2 separate regions of the Homo sapiens genome follow, and region 2 is linked to region 1. Evidence: promoter capture Hi-C in 16 types of primary human blood cells and fetal thymus (Javierre and others, 2016). All regions are on one chromosome and are shown on one strand. The core of a region is centred on a gene start or on the middle of the fragment in contact, and the rest is flanking DNA. Distances in the headings are between cores, read along the strand shown. Region 1 holds the start of MANSC1 (MANSC domain containing 1). Region 2 overlaps LOC107984486 (a long non-coding RNA gene).

Region 1 (2,645 bases), core at 52-2,551:
ATGGAAAGGTCTACTTTGTAACTAGCATGGATTACCCCATGTAGAGAGATTCAAAAACTGTGATAGCTCTACACCCTGAACCCTGAAGTGTATCAGATGATAAAAGATAAAACACACTTGCAGATCAGTCCCTTGTTGCATCAGGAAAATCACTGCAATGGGAAATTACTCTGGTGTTTACTTTTCTTTGGTAACTCTTTCAAACCTAGCTTTAGCAACATTGTAATTCAAGAGTCATCCTTTGGTTACAAGTAGAGTTAGTTTCACACAATGGACCTTTGTTCACAAGCATTCTCAGTCAACCTAATCCTCCTGTAGTTATTGGTTAAGACTAGGGTGTGTAGCTGTTGGCCGTACAGGCCTAGACTTAACTTGCAATTGCATAGCGCTTCAGGTCTGCAAGCTCTTTCAAAACAGAGGTGAAGATACTGTCAAAGGTTAGACCATATGGCAAACTAAGTGTCAATGGTTTAGTAACGTTGCATTTGTGTGTGTGTTTATGGAGGTGGGGATGGGGCCAGCAGTAATTTAGAAACTTCCACAACCTATGCCCTATGCAGTTCTTTTCCATTCATTCAGTCAACAAAAATATTTTAGTTAAATATTTACTGAGCACCTATTGTGTACCAGGCACTATGCTAAGTGTTAGGGATACAGTTTTAATATATGTTACAGACACCAGCATTTTCACCATTATTATCCTATCTACAAACAATAAATCCCGCAGAAAGCCAAATACCTTCCCTGAAGTTTGTCTTGCAGATAATATTTAACTCAAGAATTGCCATCTTTAATTGAGGACTCCATCCTCCAATTATGGAAAGAGGATTCTCAGAACTATGCCCCCAATAGGATGCACTATAAGCCCTTGAACATCAAAAAACTGCTCTCAGTGGTTGCCTCTGAGGAGGGAGACTAGGAGACTGGGGCACGGGGGTGAGGGGTAGACTTGTCTCTGTGTCTATTTTTGTACTGTTTGACATTTTCCCCATGTGCATTTATTTTAACTTGCGCGGGCCGCGAGGCAAGGCTCACCTGCAGACCCTCGGGCCACCAGCAGGGAGGCACGCACTCCCCCTCGCAGCGCGCCCAGCCCGGGGTCAGCGGTGTGGCTGAGCTGGGGGGGAGCGCGGGGCGGTGGGGGGAGCCACCTCCCTGCGGGGCTCAGCGCTGGGGCCGGGAGCCCGGAGCCTCCGCGGGGAGGGACGCGCTAATGTTGCCGGGAAGCAGCTCCGGGTTGCAGGGCAGGAACGTGCCCTTCCCCCGCGGCAAACTTGCCGTCGCTGCGACGGAAGCAGGAACTTGCTAACCACAAAACCCGCCAGGCCGGTGCGGGAGCTGCGGAGCATCCGCTGCGGTCCTCGCCGAGACCCCCGCGCGGATTCGCCGGTCCTTCCCGCGGGCGCGACAGAGCTGTCCTCGCACCTGGATGGCAGCAGGGGCGCCGGGGTCCTCTCGACGCCAGGTAAAGGGGTCTCCCCAATACCCACCCCCGACCGGCCGCAGGCGACGTCGCTACCTGCGGAGAGAGTCGGTCCCCTCCTTTCCAGGGGCCGAGGCTCCTTCACCCACACCCGAGCATCCAAAGGACCAGCTGGGGCCAATAAGGGCTGACCAGGATCCTTGAGTCGCTGCAGTATTCCAAAGGGGACCTCTAGGCGGGCTCAAGGCACCTGCCATAAATGGCTCTGGCTCTGCGTTGACATCAGAAGGAGAGGCAGAAGAATAGCTCAGTAGGCAACATGCATTTCCTCAAAGGAAGAGAAAATGTTCCCTGTTTTCTTGTCGTTGACTCTGTATTCATTATTGAAACTGCTAATTGTCTAATTCTCTGTAGAGTGTGTGTGTGTATACAGTTATAAGCATCTTGGTAAATTATAGTGTGCTGTAAGACGATTTCCAATATTTGAACTAATTACGTGCGAGTAAGTTTTAGCGACTCTTGTATGCAGACGTTAAAACTCAGGGGCATCCTCTCTCACCCGCCTGTATCCTTTTACCCCGTCTTTCAACAAGATTCAACTCGACTTCAGGCCCTTAAAGCCTAAATAATAATGGATTAGAAAACGTCGCTAACCTAATATTGCTGAGCCTCTTTAATGATATAAAACTCTTAAACACTTCTCTCAATGCTGCATACTGAAAACAACTCCTGCCCCATCTCCTTACATAGTTCAGGTTTCTTTGCAAAAGCTTGAAAAGAGGCTACATTAGAATCCATTCAAAATAAAGTATTGGCCTGGTTTTCTCTTGATTCCCTAGAGGCTTGCAAAATATGGCAGCGTATTAAGTACCTTGGCCAGAATTATTAACCTGGGGAGTCCACGATAAGGTATCCATGGATAGAATTCAGGATGTCTGTGAACTTGAGTGGAAAAAATTATTATTTCACCGACTTCTGAAATGGAATGTAGGCAAAAGCCACAGTAGTATTAGCAGTAGCTATGATTTGCCCCCTGTAAATATTGCCGATATCTTTATATCACATGACTTGTTGCACGTTTCAAAATATTATCTATACTCAATACCACGTCAAAATTATGGCAGTTATTAGATGACCACTTGTTACTTAATAGGTTAATAAAGAAGCACATATTATGTCCCACAACTTTTTGTAAGTTTTAACTAAAATGAGGATAATAATG
Region 2 (2,645 bases), core at 75-2,574, 240 kb before region 1:
GGCGGTCTGTGATGGTTTTGTGGGTAACCAGTGAGCTTCCCCAATTGATCGGTGCAGTTATCATTCTATTTTAGACCCCTAATTGGCATTTCCAAGCAGTTTAAATATGTTTTGAGAAAAAGGCAGTAAAAGAGACTAAATCTGGGGGAAAGCAAAGCTTCAGTAAAAATAGCATTCCAAATATTTCAGCTGGGATCTCTTTGTCTAACTAACAGAGATTTGGAGAGTGGATCAGAAGGCCTGCATCTCCTTCCCCTTCTGCAATTAGCCAGGTATATGCCCGTGGGCAAGCCATTGAACTGATCCTGGGCCACTGTTTCCTTACTTACAAGATGAAGAGGAGCCCCACCTTGCTACTTCCAAGAGCGTAGGAGCTGAGCACCTTTGGGTTGCCCTGGTTTGTGAAGGCCCCCTGAACTAAGAACACATTATATATTGATCAGGAAAGGAATTCGATATAGGCTTGGAGGTGATCTCTGTAAAGTCAGAAAGAGGATCCTAGGATTCTAAGGCCATATGCACAGGGCAGTGAGCAAGAACTGAAGTTACAGGACTCTCAGGTTCCTGTCTCAGGTAAGTCCCTTCCAGGTGTTGGCTGAGTTGCTCTATGGCTCATTTTCTTAATTGTGTCAAGCAGAAGAGGTCACAGAGGGTGGAGCATTGGCCAATGTGTCATGTTCTCAAAGTTCTGAAAAAAGGACAGAGGGAGCAGAAAGGCCAGAAGAGGAGTTTCCACAGCAAACTGACCACAACCAACTATCCCATTCCCTTCCCAGACTGGAAGGGACAAGGGCACCAGGTAGCTGCAGCCTCCATGGTTTCTTAAGTATCTTCATCCCTTTAGCACCATAGCCACCAACTTAAGCAAGGAAATCAAGATCTTTAACAAACAGGGGAAGTCCAGGAGATGGTAATTAGGTGAACTTTTGGAGATTTTGGGGGAATCCGTAGATGTTTATCTTTTCAAGAGATAGACTCCCTTTTAAATTTTGGTAAAATCTACATAAATGTCATTTACCATTTTAGCCATTTTTACATGTACAATTCAGTGGAGAGGCCCTTTTTGATAACTTTCATTCTCTCCCTGTGCTGATGTAGACTGTGTACTCCCTGCTAGGAAGATTCCTGGTTGTTCTGCAGGGTCATTCTGAGGGCGTCATCCAGTTAAGTGGATTTGGCTCCTGCAATAGGGGAATACCCCAAAATACCAGAAACAGGACAGGAAATTATTCTGTGGTCATTTATCCTTGATACTGATGAGATCAGATTTGCTGCTGCATCCCTTTAATTTTTATCTCTGCATTGTCCCTAACCACTTATCTTGACCTGTGGCTTGCCCTTGGGCCTGATCTCTTTCATTATAGTGCATTTTGGTTCTCTGCTGACTCCTGGCGCATTCTGATTATTAAAAAAAAACCCTATTTTTCTTGGGATGTGACTTGTCTGCCCCTTCAGTGGTCCTTGCAGAGCTTATTTGTCAGATACTATTGACAGCTTCTGCTCTCTACCTGAGCTCCAATCCCATTTCCCTGACTGCCTACTGGCCATTTCCTCTGGAATGTGCAGGTCATTGTTCTGCCAAGCAGATTGCAACATGTCCAAAAACAACCTTCTTCTTTTTTTTTTTTTTTTTTTGCCACAAATCAGCTGCTCATATAAACTGTCAGTCCCTGTCAATAGTCCATGAAGTTATTTAGATATAGAGAAGCAAATTCCTCTTTGATTTGATCTCCTCTTTCATCACTCTCAGCTGTTCAGCCCCTAGAACAATCAGGTTTTCCTTCAAATATTGATCTTGTTTCTGTCATTCCCTCTCTCCTATGCCCATTTCTAGGTCCTTACTTCCTCTAATATCATCTACTGTTCATGTCTACCCTTTCCCTGATTCAATTACCTGTGAAAGACTGAGGCCAGACCTAGACTACCTTCATTAATCAAATCATGTCTATTCAAAACCCTGAAGTTCTTCCCTATTCATATAGACTTCTTGCTCTTCTTTGCTGTCAAAATTTCCTCTAATCTGATCTCATACTAGACAATATTTCTGCCAGGTGGCTATATTGTAATGGGAAGTTTAATGGACTTGGAGTTAGTGGATCTGCTTTCAAATCCTAGCCCCGTACTCAGCAGAATGACCTTGGGCAATTCACTGACTCTCGAAACCTTGAATCCCCATTTGCAAAACTGGGGTGATAATACCTATGTCATAGGGAAGTTTATGAGATTGTAGTAATATCTGTGGAGACAGTTTAGCATTGTGCTCGGAACCCGTGTTTGGGCTGACTTACTTGGTTCAATACTAGGCTTTCCCACTCAGTAACTATGTGACCTGAAGCAAGTTCCTTAGCCTCTCTGGGTTTCATCAGTTTCATCTGTAAAATGGATACATTACCTATGAGGTAACATATACCTCATAGGTCTGTCGTGACAATTAAATGAGATAATATATGTAAAGCACTTTAACACAGTGCAAGGCACATTGTAAGCTTTAATAGGTGTAAACTATTATAATTATGCAGCAAGAGACCTAGTGTAATCAGCACTTGATATATGTTTGGTAAGTTTGTTTGTGTGAGACAGTGTCTCACTCTGTCACCGACACTGGTGTGCAGTGATCATAGCTCACTTGCAGCCTCGACCTCCCA

Evidence for each region. The method cuts DNA at HindIII sites, captures the fragments that hold promoters and counts their contacts. A CHiCAGO score of 5 or more calls a contact.
Region 2: a fragment that was not itself captured here is called in contact with the fragment with the promoter of MANSC1 in region 1 in 1 of 17 cell types (neutrophils); the score reaches 5.9 in neutrophils.

What each region holds. Positions count from the first base shown.
Region 1 is chr12:12,348,898-12,351,542 of GRCh38, reverse strand. MANSC1 (MANSC domain containing 1) reads left to right here and starts at 1,301. Exons shown (of 4, transcript NM_018050.4): 1 at 1,301-1,465. RefSeq lists a silencer at 991-1,300. The HindIII fragment of the contact is 5,175 bases long and covers 1-2,195 here.
Region 2 is chr12:12,584,229-12,586,873 of GRCh38, reverse strand. It overlaps LOC107984486 (a long non-coding RNA gene), which reads left to right. Exons shown (of 3, transcript XR_001749010.1): 1 at 1-573. Among named protein-coding and RNA genes, the nearest start is that of DUSP16, 23 kb to the right of the region's middle. RefSeq lists an enhancer at 1,316-1,817. The HindIII fragment of the contact is 2,329 bases long and covers 160-2,488 here.